Regions from separate parts of the Homo sapiens genome. Here region 2 is linked to region 1. The links are contacts of gene promoters, found by promoter capture Hi-C in human tissues and cell types (Jung and others, 2019). All regions are on one chromosome and are shown on one strand. Each heading gives the region's core, a stretch centred on a gene start or on the middle of the fragment in contact. The rest is flanking DNA. Distances are from core to core; before and after follow the strand shown. Region 1 holds the start of CCDC8 (coiled-coil domain containing 8 subunit of 3M complex). Region 2 has its middle 6.4 kb from the start of IGFL3.

Evidence for each region. Contacts are between HindIII fragments. The study calls those that stand out against the background at their distance.
Region 2: a fragment that was not itself captured here is called in contact with the fragment with the promoter of CCDC8 in region 1 in 2 of the 25 tissues and cell types used here (small bowel and thymus).

What each region holds. Positions count from the first base shown.
Region 1 is chr19:46,409,713-46,417,646 of GRCh38, forward strand. CCDC8 (coiled-coil domain containing 8 subunit of 3M complex) reads right to left here and starts at 3,852. Exons shown (of 1, transcript NM_032040.5): 1 at 617-3,852. The coding sequence starts at 3,098. The coding sequence ends at 1,482. RefSeq lists enhancers at 2,226-3,059, 4,726-5,559, 5,560-6,392 and a silencer at 6,819-6,908. The HindIII fragment of the contact is 10,715 bases long and covers 1-7,934 here.
Region 2 is chr19:46,127,089-46,135,022 of GRCh38, forward strand. It overlaps a transcript of IGFL2 not described here. Among named protein-coding and RNA genes, the nearest start is that of IGFL3, 6.4 kb to the left of the region's middle. RefSeq lists enhancers at 5,720-6,551, 6,552-7,383, 7,384-7,934. The HindIII fragment of the contact is 6,419 bases long and covers 838-7,256 here.

The sequences.
Region 1 (7,934 bases), core at 2,602-5,101:
CACACCTGTAGTCCCAGCTATTCGGGAGGCTGAGGGAGGAGAATCGCTTGAACCAGGGAGGCGGAGATGGCAGTGAGCCGAGATCGTGCCACTGCACTCCAGCCTGGGAGACAGAGAGTGAGATTCCATCTCCAAAAAGAAAAAAAAAAATGCAGCAGCAATTAATGCACAATACACACAGCCTCTTTTTTTTTTTTTTTTTTTTTTTTTTTTTGAGACAGAGTCTCACTGTGTCACTAGGCTGGAGTGCAATGGCACAATCTCGGCTCACTGCAACCTCCACCTCCTGGGTTCAAGAGATTCTCTTGCCTCAGCCTCCAGAGTAGCTGGGACTACAGGCGTGCGCCACAAGGCCAGTCTAATTTTTGTATTTTTATTAGAGACGGGGTTTCACCACGTTGGCCAGGATGGTCTCGATCTCTTGACCTCGTGATCCACCCGCCTTGGCCTCCCTAAGTGCTGGGATTACAGGCGTGAGCCACCATGCCCGGCCAACCACAGCCCCTCTTTTGGGCCTTTTCCTATTGCAATGATTTTTCAATGTGTCCAGTGGCCGAGTTGCCCAGATGTCCGTGGAGCTTGATGCAAACAGAATTCAGAGCCACACAGGCACCGCTAGCAAATCCACACCTCTGGTGCCGAGGGCCCCAGAATCTGTGTTTTGAATGCATTTTTCAGACGCTTTTACTGTACCTTATAACCAAGATCGGGTGAGGTGTGCAAACCAAGGGCCCTGTCCCCTCCAAACCAGCAGAGCCCGGGGCATGAGGATGGCAAGCGAAGTGACAACATAAACACAGGTGTCTCCATCATCAAGGATGGGAGTGGAACGGACAGCAAGGGCCAGGTCACCCCCAGAGCATTCGTCAGTTGTCAAGTCCAAAGCTAAGAAATCAGTTCATAAATGTTTTTTGATTTGCATGTTGGCTCAACTCTTTTTAAGTCCAAGGAGGCAGTCCACATTAAGTGTGCAGGCAAAAAAGAGATGGAAAAAGGAGTCAGTTTCTCCCCTGCCCTCCCTCTCTCCCTTTATCAAGCTGAGCACCTTGAGTTGCATTTGAGGAAATGAAAACTATAGGTGACGCAACCCCATTGTGTCGAATTCTTTCTTTACATTTTTTGGGTTGCTACAAGGAATCAGTATTTTTTTTTTTTAATCAGATGGTGTGTGTGGTGGCTCACATCTGTAATCCCAGCATTTTGGGAGGCCGAGGCAGGAGGATCACTTGAGGCCAGAAGTTTGAGGCTGCAGTGAGTTATGATCATGCCACTGCACTCCAGCCTGGGCAACAGAGTGAGACCCTGTCTCTAAAAAATTTAAAAAAAAATCAAAGCATGAACAAAACTTTAACAAGAGAATAAAGAGGGTTGTTAGGTGGAGACGTGGCCAGCACTCCACCTCCACTTTGAAGTTCAGAGGCAGAGCATCTCTCCCTCCCACACTTGGAGGGAGGGCCCGTGGGCTGTCTCTAGCCCTCACCTCACAGCTGGTCTTCTTGCTCTCCCTGCTCAGCTTCTGCTCTGGCCTCGGCCCTCAGCACCCTGAGGTTCCTGGCCTCTCCTGCCCTGGGGACTCTCTTGGGCAGGGTTGGCAACCGGGGAGTGTGCCAGAAGGCTCTCCGGCGCTTGCAAAACCACGAAAAGCGTCCAGGGGTCTGGAACCTCACTGTCTTGACCTGTTTCCGGGCCCTGGCTCCTGGAGCTGTTCCTGTGGTCCCTTGGGCAGCTGAGACTTCAGCTTCCTGGATACCTGGGGCCCCTGCCCTCTGATTATGTGCAGCCTCTGCCCTCTGGCCAGCCCGGGCCTGTGCCCTCTGATTATCTGCACCCTGGACAGCTGGGGCCCTTTCCCTCTGGTCATGTACGGCCTCTTCCCTTTGATTATCTGTAACCTCTGACCCCTGGTCAGCTGGGGCCTCCGCCCTCTGATTATCTGCAGCCTCTTCCCTGTGGTTATCTGTGCCCTGTGACCTCTGGTCAGCTGGGGCCTCTGCCCTCTGATTATCTGCAGCCTCTTCCCTCTGGTTATCTGCAGCCTCTGCCCCCTCCTCAGCTGGGGCCCCTGCCCTCTGATTATCTGCAGCCTCTTCCCTCTGATTATCTGCAGCCTCTGCCCCCTGGTCAGCTGGGGCCCCTGCCCTCTGATTACCTGCAGCCCCTTCCCGCTGGTCAGCTATGGCCTCTTCCCTTTGACTATCTGCAGCCTCTCCCCCCTGATCAGCCTCGATGTCTGCCCCCTGACCTGTGGGTGCTGTCTGCTCCTTCCTGCGGCGCCGAAAGGAGGCCCAGTTGATCTTGGGCCTCCATCGCCTAGGGGAAGCCTGGGGCACACAAACATCTCCCGCGTTTCCCAAGCGATCCCCCGGGCTGGTGCCCTCTGGCGCCGATGATACCCCTGCGCTCTCCACTGCGGTGGAGGCCAGCCGGGCCTCGCCCACCCCGGGGCCCGCCCTCGGCGCCCAACCCTTCACCCTCCGCTTCAGCTTCCCCCAGGACACCTGGCTGACATACTCCCGCCACCTGTCCGCTTTGGACAGCTGAGGCCCCAGGTTGTCCTCAAACATGGGCACTGGCAGGTTGACGCGGCGGCGGGCAGGCGGCGCGCTGGGCTGCTTCTCCTGTCGCCGGAGGAAGGCCTCGACCAGTTCCTCATCATCCTCACTCTCCAGGTCGCTTCCCAGGAACTTGCTGCCCAGGTAGCTGACGGGCATTTTGCGCACCTTCTTGCCCCGCCGCGGGCCCTGGCGGCTCTTGTCTCTGGAGGTCTCGAAGTCGCTGAACTCGCTGTCGCTGGCGTTGCTGCTGTCGTACGTGCCCACGACCAGCCGGGGCGGAGGAGTCACCATCTGCTGCACTCTCCTCCTCACTCGGGGCTCCTTGGGCTTTTTGGGGGGCTGGGGCGGGTGCGGGGTGCTCTTCTCCATGATGCGGGCCACGTCCTCCAGGGTGCGGCCCTCTTCTTCCAGGAACTGGGTCAGCCGCTCCCGAAATTCTGCTTCCTTGGTGGCGGGCTTAGAGATGACTCTCCAGACGCCCCCAGCCAGCCTGACCTCCCGGGGGATGAGCAAATAGTCGACGTCCTCCCCGATCTGCAGCATCCCCACCGTGGAGTCCTCCTCCTTGCGGAACACCTTGCCGATCTTCTTAAATGTCCCCACGGGCTTTAGGGCTTCCACGAGGACGTCCAAATCCACATCTTTGCAGACATCGGGGACGCTCCAAAGAATGAGGCAGTCGGGGGACGGCAGGAAGCCCCAGGGGAACCAGCCCCCCACGTGGCTTTTCTCGAGAGTCTTTAAGATCTCCAGGGTGATATCTGGGGTGAGGGGGCAATGAGCCCCAACAAACTACTGTAGCCCTTAGTCTTGAGGGAGGGACTGGATGGGGGGAGTTCCAGCAACGCTGACCGGAGAGTCTCACCTCCCTAGCCAGGGACGAGCCAAACGCCTCCAATCTCTTCGCCTGCAACAAGTACAGTCTTGACCAAGTCCGGCTCCCCCACCAAGGACTTGGGGGAATCAATTTCCAGGATGCCTACGTGAGCCGGGGGCGAGGTCAGTCCCAAGGCTCAAGGCCCACTCCAAGCTGGAAACGTGGTGTCCCAGCTCCAAGTTGGGGCGCGCGGGCTGCCAGCGACTCTTCCTGCCCCAGGCCCCAGGGACGCGGCTGGAACTTGGGACAGGACTTCGCAGACAAAGACGGTCCAGTCGAAGCTATTCAATATGGCCGAGGCGCTGGGAGGCCCCAGCCCGGGCCTCCAGTAGGGTCCCCCGCCCCCAGGCAGGCCGCCACCCAGCTCCAGGCTGACCTTGACGCGCCGCAGCCTGCCAGCCCGCGCGCTTAGAGCTCTGCACCGTGGAGCGCGCGGGCAGGAAGTTCCTCCTCGCCCTCCGCCAGAATGAGGCCCACCTTCCCCCGTCTCATCTTACACTCCCAGACTCTGGAAGACTGACAGGGGGGCTGTCCACTCCCTTCGGGGCGGCCTCCTTCCCCTCCCCCACAGGGGTGTGGCCGCGCCCCGGGCCTAGCTGGGCCCATTGCTTCCCAGCGAAGCGGCAGTGGCCCACGTCAGCACCTTTCCTGAAAGGCAGCGGTTCCCAAACCTGCCATCCGAAATGTGCAAGTTTCCAGCCAAGTCCGGGAGGTGGGTGTGCTAGTGGATTCTACTTTTTGAGAGCCACTGGCACCACAGATTAGCATTTTAAATTCACGCGACTATCGGTACCCGTACACCTATATGCGTGGGTAGAGAAATGGGTACCTGACTGCAACAGTCCCACTGTGGCGCTTGGCAGGTCAGGGCTCAATACATATTTTTGAGGGGATGAATAAACCCAAATGTTCATGGCCAGGCGCGGTGGCTCATGCCTGTAATGCCAGCACTTTGGGAGGCCCAGGTGGGTGGAACACTTGAGGCCAGGAGTTCGAGACCAGCCTGCCCAACATGGTGAAACCCTCGTCTCTACCCCGGGTGTGGTGGTGCGCGTGCGTAGTCCCAAGCTACGCGAGAGGCTGAGGCAGGAGAATGGCGTGAACCTGGGAGGTGGAGGTTGCAGAGATCGCGCCACTGCACTCCGGCCTGCGCAACAGAGGGAGACTGTCTCAAAAAAACAAAAGTGCAAAAAAACCCCTACAAATAAACAACAACAAAAAACCCTAAAAGTTCACGAGTAGAGACTGCCTCTATTTTATGGTAGTATCTTACAGTGAAATATTTTGCAACTTCGAAAAAAGAATGAGATGGCTAAGGATAGGCACGGTTTATGAGGCGCTTCCTATGTAGTAGGCACCATTCCCAGTGCTTTCTATGAATGAACTCAGGAAATCCTTGCTATAACAGGAGACTGGTAGCATGAGTACAATTCCCATTAGACAGCTGAGGAAACTGAGGCCCAAGGACATAAAACCACACTCTCAAGGTCACAGCCATGGGGAGTGGTTGAGTTTGGATTTGAATCCAGAATAGTCTGCCTTTTGTGTCGACCAAAGAGTCAAGATGGCCAGGCGCGGTGGCTCACGCCTGTAATCCCAGCCCTTTGGGAGGCTGAGGCGGGCAGATCACGAGGTCAGGAGATCAAGACAAGACCATCCTGGCTAACGCGGTGAAACCCTGTCTCTACTAAAAATGCAAAAAAATTAGCCGCGCGTGGTGGTACGTGCCTGTAGTCCCAGCTACTCGGGAGGCTGAGGCAGAAGAATCTCTTGAACCCGGGAGGCGGAGGTTGCAGTGAGCCGCGATCGCACCACTGCACTCCAGCCTGGACGACAGAGCAAGACTCCGTCTCAAAAAAAAAAAAAGAAAGAAAGAAAGAAAAAAAAGAATCAAGATGTGAACCAATGCTAGTCGCATTCGGCCGGGAGCTCGGTTCTTGAGACGCGAGTCTACCGAAGCTCCCGCCAGTTGAGAGGCGAGTCTGCCGAAGCTCCCGGCCGAAAAAGCCAAATCCTTCCTTAACCCAGTGTCTGAGGGGTTTTGTCCGTGGCTCCTCCTGCTACAGGACATGCGACTAGCATTGGTCCACATCTTTGGAACCAGGCATCCAGAGACATGTTGAATAGGCCTCGTTGTTAGGAACCCTCAGAGGTACATGGTAAGGCCAGTGCCATCAATCATCTTTTTACAGACGGTGAAACTGAGGCTGGTCTGAAGTTGCACAGCTCTGAGTGGTGGATCTAATATAATATTAGAACCAGATCTTGGGCACTAGCATTTAAAACACTAGCTGACGCTAAAGACACAGCTAATCCCCTTCTCCTAAATGTGTTGCACCATTTAACCACTTAGCAGCCACAATACTTGCAGCCACTCTTGCCTGGATGTGTACAAAGCCCCCTCACTGGGCTTCCCGCCTCCCCATCACTGCTTGCAATCCAGGCCCCATCCAGAAGCTGGGGGCATCTTTTAAAAACTTAGGTCCGATCTGTCTCTACTCTTTTGAAAATTCTCCATCTCAGGCTGGGCGCCGTGGCTCACGCCTTTAATCCAGCACTTTGGGAGGCTGAGGCGGGCGGATCACCTGAGGTCCGGAGTTTGAGACCAGCCTGGTCAACATGGCAAAACCCCATCTCTACTAAAAAATACAAAAATTGCCGGGCGCGGTGGCTCACGCTTGTAATCCCAGCATTTTGGGAGGCTGAAGCGGGTGGATCACCTGAGGTCAGAAGTTTGAGACCAGCCTGGCCAACATGGTGAAACCCCGCCTCTACTAAAACTACAAAACTAGCCTGTCTTGGTGGCGCATGCCTGTAATCCCAGCTACTCCGGAGGCTCAGGCAGGAGAATCGTTTGAATCCGGGATTCAGAGGTTGCAGTGAGCTGAGACCGTGCCATTGCACTCCAGCCTGGGCAACAAGAGCGAAACTCCGTCTCAAAAACAAACAAACAAAAAAAAGAAACGAACAAAAATATAAGAATTAGCCGGGCATGGTGACACATGCCTGTAATCCCAGCTACTGGGGAGGCTGAGGCAGAAGAATCGCTTGAACTGGGAGGCGGAGGTTGCAGTGAGCCAAGATCGCGCCACTGCCCTCCACCTTGGGCGACAGAGCGAGACTCCGTCTCAAATAAATAAATAAATGTGATCTTATTTAACTCATAAAGGAACCAGGCAAATTTTTAAAGAGGGAACGGAGGAAAAAGAGACGGGCCAGAGGGAAAGAAAAGATGTGGGGGCTTAGGGGACGTTAAGGTCTCAGCGAGCGGCCTGTTCACAATTACCGGCTTATTCAGGTTGTTTTTCTCTTGCAGAGCCAGGTCGTTGGGCTTCGCTGGATTTTTCTCCTCTTTCTCCCTGGCTCAGTCCCAGCCGCCGCGCTCAGCCCCCGGGCCTCCCGCGGCCCCGCCCCTCGCCTCCCCCTTCGCACAGTTTGTGGCCTCCGCAGTCCGGCGGTCTCCATGGCAACCACGGGACGCGCTCCTCCGCGCGGATCAAAACTAAGCGGGTGGGGCGGAGGCGGAGGCGAGGCTGCAGGGAGATGGTGGGGGTGGGGGCGCCACGGAGGACGAGGGCAGGAGCTCCTCTTTTCTGCCCCTGGTGCCTCCCTTAGGCCTCATCCCCAAAGCCAGCTTCCCTGAAAAGCTGTTTGTAGAAACCAAAAAATGAAAAATCCTAAGGACACCTAGGTTTCAGGAATGCTGATTAAAGAATCGCAAGTCTGAGGGCTCATGACAGTGCCTTCCAAGTGGTGACCTCGCAGATGAGACGTTTGGGTTTTGTAGTCATAAAAGGGCTTTCGTTTTGTTTGTTTGTTTTGTTTTTTGTTTGTTTTTCTTTTTTTATTTGGTGGGGGAGCAGGGAGCGGCGCAAGGAGGATAATCTAAGAAATGAAAATCCCAAATGTTCCATATTTTTGCAAAAATCGTCAACCTCCGGCCGGGGGCGGTGACTCATGCCTGTAATCCCAGCACTTTGGGAAGCCAAGGCAGGAGGATCGCTTGAGCCCAGGAATTGGAGACCAGCCTGGGCAACATAGCGAGACTCCGGTCTCCACAAAAAATTTAAAAATTAGCCGAATATTATGGTGTGCGCCTGTGGTCTGAGCTACTCGGGAGACTGAGGTGGGCCTATCGCTTGAGCCCGGGAGGTCAGGGCTGCAGGAAGCGGAGATCGCCCATCTGCACGCCAGCCTGGGCAACAGAGCGAGACTCCATCTCAAAAAAAAAAAAAATTGCCAGCCCCTGAACGGTTCAGCTGTGGGTGTTTTTAATTGCACAGATCTCTGGCAGGTGAGACCCTTCTCCAGCCATCACAGAATAAAATAATAAAAACGAGAACTGTAGCCTCACTTTTGCATTTGTTTAAAATAAATGGAAAGTTGGAAAAGAATGGGGAAGAGAAACAAAACACGGCTGAAATCCCTCTACCCAGCTACATTTTGTTGCCATTTAAAAAAAAAATGGGACACGCGGGCCAGGGGCAGTGGCTCAAGCTTGT
Region 2 (7,934 bases), core at 2,797-5,296, 280 kb before region 1:
GAAAGCTGCAAAATAGTCTGGGCACAGTGGCTGACACCTGTAATCCTGGCACTTTGGGAGGCTGAGGTGGGAGAACAGCTTAAAGCCAGGAGTTCAAGACCAGCCTGGGCAACAAAGCGAGACCCTGTCTGTACCAGAAAACAAAAATAAAATTAGTTGGGCATGGTGGTACATGCCTGCAGTCCCAGCTACTCGGAAGGCTGTGGTGAGCTGTGATGGCACCACTGTAATCCAGCCTGGGTGACTGAGTGAGATGCTGTTGCAAAGAAAGAAGAAGGAAGGAAGGAGAGAAAGAGAATAAGAAAGAAAGAACAAAATATACACATCTTGTTCCATGAACTATTGACAATTTAGGTCATAGGCAATCATTCTTAGTCTAAATTTTCTTGAAGGAAGAAATAACTTTCTGTCTGGCACTAAGTTTCAACATAATTTAGGTCCCGGACAATTTTTGCTGATTTAATGAAAATTATCAATCCTCCCAGAAAATTGTTCTTAAACGGATGTATAGGTAGATAGGTAAGATGTATAGGTAGGTAGGTAGGTGGGTAGATAGGTAGGTAGGTAGATAGATAGATGATGGATGGATGGGTGGTTGGATATTAGATAGATGTTAGATTGATAGACAACAGACAGACTGCATGCAATTTCTTTTTTTTTAGAGTCACTAATTTTACTTTTTTAAAATGTTAAAAAATCTACTTTTAATTTTTTCGTAAGTTATTGGGGTACAGGTGGTATTTGGTTACTTGAGCAAAGGAGCCACTGGCCACAGAAGTTTCTGGTTGGTGAAGCGACACCCCAAGGATCCCATAACACTTTGGGAAGTATGGCCATTTTTAACAATATTGATTCTTCCTATCCATGAGCATGGAATGTTTTCCCACTTTTTTGTGTCATCTCTGATTTGTTTGAGCATTATTTTGTAGTTCTCCTTGTAGAGATCTTTCACCTCCCTGGTTAGCTATATTCCTAGGTATTTTACTCTTTTTGTGGCAATTGTGAATGGGAATTGCAGTCCTGATTTGGCTTTACTGTTGTTGGTGTATGGGAATGCTAGTGATTTTTGTACATTGTACAAAAAATGTACATTTGTACATTGATTTTATATCCTGCAACTTCGCTGAAGTTGCTTATCAGCTGAAGGAGCTTTTGTGGAGACTGTAGGGTTTTCTAGATACAGGATCATGTCATCTGCAAACAGGGATAGTTTGATGTACTCTCTTTTTATTTAGATGCCCTTTATTTCTTTCTCTTGCTTGATTGCTCTGGCCAGGACTTCCTATACTATGTTGAATAGGAGCAGTGAAAGAGGGCATCCTTATCTTGTACCAGTTTTCAAGGTGAATTCTTCCAGCTTTTGCCCATTCTGTATAATGTTGGCTGTGAGTTTGTCACAGATGGCTCTTGTTATTTTGAAGTATATTTCTTCAATACCTAGTTTATTGAGAGTTTTTAACATGAAGAGGTGTTGAATTTTTCTCAAAAGCCTTTTCTGCATCTACTGAGATAATTATGTGGTTTTTGTCTTTAGTTCTGTTTCTGCAATGAATCACATTTATTGATTTGCATATGTTGAACCAACCTTGCATCCCAGGAATAAAGCCTGCTTGATCATGGTGGATTAGCTTTTCATGTGCTGCTGGATTCAGTTTGCCGGGATTTCTTGAGGATTTTTTGCATTGATGTTCATCAAGGATATTGGCCTGAAGCTTTCTTTTCTTGTTGTGTGTCTGCCAGGTTTTGATATCAGGATGATGCTGGCCTCATAGAATAAGTTAGGGAGGAGTCCCTCCTTCTCAATTTTTTGGAATACTTTCAGTAGGAATGGTACCAGCTCTTCTTTGTACATCTGGTAGAATTCAACTGTGAATCCATCTGGTCTTGGAAATTTTTTGGTTGGTAGGCTATTTATTGCTGATTCAATTTCAGAACTTGTTATTGGTCTATTCAGGGACCGAATCTCTTCCTGGTCCAATCTTGGGAGTGTATATGTCCAAAAATATATCAGTTTCTTGTAGATTTTCTGGTTTATGTGCATAGAGGTGTTGATAATATTCTCTGATGGTTATTATTTCTGTGGGGTTAGTGATAATATCCCCCTTTACATTTCTAATGGTATTTATTCGGATCTTCCCTCTTCTTTTTTAATCTAGCTAGTGTTCTATCTATTTTATTAATTTTTTTCAAAAAACCAACTCTTGGATTTGTTGATCTTTTGTGTGTGTGTGTGTGTGTGTGTGTGTGTGTGTGTGTGTGTGTGTCTCTGTCTCCTTCAGTTCAGTTTTGATTTTGATTATTTCTTGTCTTCTGCCGGCTTTGGGGTTTGTTTGCTCTGGGTTCTCTAGTTCTTTTAGTTGTGATGTTAGGTTGTGAAGCTGAGTTCTGACTCTCTGAAGTGGGCAATTAGTACTATAAATTTCCCTCTTACTCCTGCCTTAGCTGTGTTCCAGAGATTCTGGTATATTGTATCTTTGTTCTCATTGGTTTCAAATAGCTTCTTGATTTCTGCCTCAATTTCATTATTTACCCCAAAGTCATTCAGGGGCAGGTTATTCAATTTCCATGTAATTGTATGGTTTTGAGCAAATTCCTTAGTCTTGATTTCTAATTTGATTGTGCTATGGTCTGAGAGAGTGGTTGTTATGATTTCGGTTCTTTTGTGTTTGCTGAGGAGTGTTTCGTGTCTGATTATGTGGTCGATTTTTCAATGTGTGCCATGTGGTGGTGAGAAGAATGTATATTCTATTGCTTTTGTGTGGAGAGTTCTGCAGATGTCTATCAGGCCCATTTGATCCAGTGCTGAGTTCAGGTCCTGAATATCTTTGTTAATTTTCTGACCTGATGATCTGTCTAATACTGTCAGTGAGGTATTGAAGTTTCCCACTATTATTGTATGGATGTCTAGATCTCTTTGAAGGTCTCAAAGAGCTTGCTCTCTGAATCTGGGTGCTCTTGTGTTGGGTGCATATGTATTTAGGATAGTTAGGCCTTCTTGTTGAATTGAACCCTTTACTATTACATAATACCCTTCTTTGTCTTTTTTTATCTTTGTTGGTTTAAAGTCATCTGAGATTAGGATTGCAACTCCTGCTTTTTTCTGTTTTCCATTTGCTTGGTAGATTTTCCTCCATCCCTTTATTTTGAGCCTGTGGGTGTAATTGCATGTGAGATGGACTGCATGCAGTTTCAAGGGTTCAGGTTCACTGTTTATTTAAACCAAATACTACAGGGTATGATCTCCTGAACTAAGTGGGTGAAGTACACGTTTCCTATGAAACAGCCTTTTTCATTATCTCACAGGGCAATAACTTCTTTAGAGTTTTGATAAATATTTTAGTTCCCCCAGCAAGCATCAGATGATGAGTTAAAGAACATACCATGTTATTTAAAATATGGCATTTGTTTGTCTACATGCTGTTTATTGAGGTTCTTGGAAGCACCTTTTCATTATGTTTATAAACTGGTTACTTGCAAGTGGTTGCTTGCCAGTTTAAACTAGCTTAAGCTGTGGCAAAAAGAGGAATTTATTATCTTTGGTAGGTTCCAAATTAAAAAATAAAGTGAGCAAGAACTAAGATTAGAAGAAATTTATGAGCTTGGATGAAGGTTCCCAGTATTTCTCATTATTTTTATGTTTAATGATGTATAGTTCCTTTTCTGTAAATGATACACTATTCAGAATAATTGTTTTGGGTTGTTTGCTTCCTTCTTATTAATTTATAAATGCTCTTTTTATATGGGAGATACTAACCTTTTGTCTGTTATATGTTTTCCTCGCCTTTGTGTTTGTTTCTCAGTAATGCTGGTGGAGTCTTCTTTTTTGAGATATTTTAAATTTTTATGCAGCAGTGTCTTTTACCACTGCCCTACATCTTCTTTCCACTTTTTGGCTTCCGCTTACGTAAGGAGGCCATCTCCAACTTAAAGTTCTATGAATAGTTCTATATTTTTACTTTCTTTTTAGTCATTTTTATTCACATATAACTTTTTCTATAAGATGTGATGCTGAGTCTAAGTTAATTTTCTTGCTAATGAATGTCCTATTGAATCTGAAATTACTTGTTGACTAGTTTCATCCCTTTTCTTCTAATGTACAATGTTACTTTTCTTATATCTCAGTTTTCCATTATTAGCTTTATCTGTTGATGGACTCTGTTCAATTGATTTATGTGTAATTTTTCTAGGTAGTGTCTGGTTCATTTACAGTAGCTTTGTTTTAAATTTTAATAATAGACAAAAACTTCTCTCCTTATTACACTACATTAAGCTTTACTCGACAATATTTGTGCAGTCAGCTTTAAGAGCTCCCAAGTAATTTTCTAAACCCTCCTCCTAAAAAATAGCAAAATTTAAAAATGGGAATTCAGATGAAATTTTTTTGTAAACATTGTTTGGCTTTGGAAAGCATGAGCATTCTAATGTTTTAATACTTTCTGTCTCAGAGGTTTATCGACTTCTTTTTTTATTAGGTCTAGTTTGCTGTCAACACCCATTTAATTTTACGTAAACATGCTCTTCGAGGCTGAAGCGAATATGACTGATTTTCAGTGTGAAAATAAAACATAAAAACCCCTTCTTGGCTCATGCCTGTAATCGCAGCACTTTGGGTGGCTGAAGCAGGCAGATCACTTGAGGCCAGGAGTTTAAGACCAGCCTGGCTAATATGGTGAAACCCTGTCTCTACTAAAAATACAAAAGTTAGCCGGGCATGGTGGCCTATGCTTGTAGTCTCAGCTACTCGGGAGGCTGAAGTGGGAGAGTCGCTTGAACCCAGGAGGTGGAGGTTGCAGTGAGCCAATATTATGCTACTGCACTCCAGCCTGGGGAGCAGAGCGAGACTCCCTCTCAAACAACAACAACAAAAACAAAACTGTTCTTGGAGTTGTTTCTAAACAGAACTTGTCTCTAGTATTAACGTAGCAGAAATGTATATGATTTTACATTAGTATTAAAGATAAGAATATTCTTGGCCAACAGGAAATGGGTTAAAGCCTTGCAGAGGAGGGAAACAGTGAATTTTGTCATTCACTTAACCAGTTTTCACACACACACAGAGAAAGTCCAGAAGCCTGGCTGGTAAGAAATTCTTACCCTTTTGCTGGCATGCTACGGTTTTGGGTTCTCTTTTTCTGAGCAACTTTGGTGACCTTGCTCCCTGTGGCATAGCTGTGGGGGCCAAGCCACGTTACAAAAGAAAATGATCCCTTTCCATTTCATGGAACCATAGGCAAAAGTCTCTCCTTTTTACAAGAGGCCAACCAGTGGGTTGCATGGGAAAATAAGATATTGAATTAAATGCACAGAAAGAAAACAATTCATTGGGACATAAGTGACACAAACTTTGGTTCCACGTGCTGTCAGTTCTCTCCTTAAAAAGCCAGCACCCAAAGTTGATAGACTCACACACCCAAACAGACAGATGACAGAAAAGTCCACAGGCTTCCCCTCCTCACATGGTGTGGCAAAGAGAAAGTGAAGTGGTGAGGGGTTTTGAATAGAGTTACAGGATTGAGGGCCAGTATGACAGAGAAGGGGAGAGAGAAGGAGAGGAAGAGGGAGGGAAAACGATAGAGGGAGAGAGGGAGGGAGAGGGAGAGGAAAGAAGAAGAAAGGGAAGGAGGGAGAAAGGGAGGGAGAGGGAGAGGAAAGAAGAAGAAAGGGAAGGAGGGAGAAAGGGAGGGAGGGATGGATAGAATTGTTTCTTGGGACTGGAACCCAAACCAACTTAGGCCAGGGAAAAGGTACACTCTGTCCCACTGCCTGCTGAGTTGATCAGATCCAGGTAGTCAACGATTTCAACCTGTCCCTCACAGATATCTGTTCACGTGACCCAAACCACTAAGGATTAGGAGAGGAGAGACAAGGCACCCTAAGTGACAGAAAAGTTAGGAAGTGAAAAGGAGAGAAAGCAAGAAGGGAAGGGAGAAAAGCATTGCCTGCAGGAGGGATGGGGGAGGCAAGGAGGGCTGGCAGGCTGGAGAAAGACTCAACCAGCTTGGCGACACTGAATCAGAAGTTCAGGCAGCTGCTTGTCAGCCGTGAAGGGATCTTGTCCAGCAGTCCCATCAGCTCACAAGTCTCCCCCTCAGGGAGAGAAAGGCTCCCCACATCCCATTGTTGGGAATGGGTGCTCGGTGTCACAAAAATCAACACTGAGACAAAGGATCTCTCAGCAAGGCTAGTTTACTTTCTGCAGAAAGAGGGCCGCTTGCTAGCAGTCTTGCCATGAGAGCACACACGAACAAAGGAGACAGGGTCATTTATAACCTGATATGCCACCCTACTGCTGTGTCTGGCTTCCGTTGGCTGGAATGGGACCTCACATTCTGTACTTGACCTGATTGGCTAGCAACTTAGAACTTCCCCAAAGAGGCAAAGGCAGAGGAGAACAAAGGAAGACAGGAAGTAACTTGTGGAATGCTGAGAGAGGCAAAAGCACTTCCAAATAAGGAAGAGGAATAGGCTATGACCTAATGCTTGCTTGGGCCTGTTCAGGCATGCCAGGGCAAATATCTAGGCTAAAATGCGGTAGCTAAGAACGCAGAGTATATTGATTTCTTTATTATGGCTAGCAGATATTTAAGAATATTAGCACAGGTCTTTGAGTAAATTTTGCTTCTAAGAGAGGTTACTATCTATTCTCAATTAGACTGGGAGGAAAGTCCCTCTGAAGAGGAACCTCTACTTATTTTATTTTCTACACCATGATCCCAGGCAAGCCCCTAAATAATACATTACTGGTCTTGGGTTCTTGGGCTCTCAATGCAATAGAAACTGACATGAGGTCAAAATAGTTTTCCCAGACAAAACTTCATTGGAGATTATTCCTGGAAATAAGAGAGGCAGCACAAAAGAGAAAGAATTCCCTGATGACTCCCTGAAAAGAGCTGGTAGGGCTTTTTTTATTAGGCAAAGTGTGGGAATTGACATCAGGGGTAGGGTATGCAGGCTGGGCTGGGCAAAGCAGGAGAGGTATACGGTATGCAGGTCAGCAGTATCTGCTTAGGATGGTTTTCTTGAGGAAGAGACCACCTGGTGGTCTGGCCTGTGGCAGCAAGGCTGTGAATCAGTTGTTCAACATTCTTTCTGGAATCTTGGTTGTCTCCTAAGACCAGTTCTTGGGATTCTTTAAGTAAAAGGACTATTAGCAATGAGGTAGTGGCGTGGGTTTTGTGATCAGCAGGAATGTTGTAGTACAGCAGTCCCTAACCTTTTTGGCTCCAGGGACTGGTTTCCCAAGGAAGACAGTTTTTCCATGGACAAAGGAGGAGGGGGATAGTTTCAGGATGATTCAAGCACATTACATTAATTGTGGACTTTATGTCTATTATTGTTACATTGTAATATATAATGAAATAATATACATTATATATTACATATGCAACTCACCATACTGTAGAATCAGTGGGAGCCCTGAGCTTGTTCTTCTGCAGCTAGATGGTCTCATCTGGGAGTGACAGGAGACAGTGACAGATCATCAGACATTAGATTCTCATATTAGATAAGGAGTATTAGATTAGATAAGGAGTGTGCAACCTAAATACTTCACATGCACAGTTCACAATAGGGTTCATGCTCTTATGAGAATCTAATGCTCCTACTGATCTGACAGGAGGCTATGCTTAGGCAATAAGGTGAGTGATGGGGAGCAGCTGTAAATACAGATGAAGCTCCACCCACTAAGTCACTGCTTACTGCCTGCTATGCAGCCCAGTTCCTAAAAGCAGACACACTGGTACCAGTCCATGGCCTGTGGGTTGGGGACCCCTGCTCTAGTAGGGGTGAGATGAAGCCAAGCCCTGACTCTTCTCTGTCTCAAGGAGAGCCCTAGGTGCATAATACTGAGAAGAGGAGCAGCTCTGTAATTGCAGTTTTAGGCACAAGGAAGCATCATTGGGCATCCTGATTATCTCTTTAATGAATATTCACTG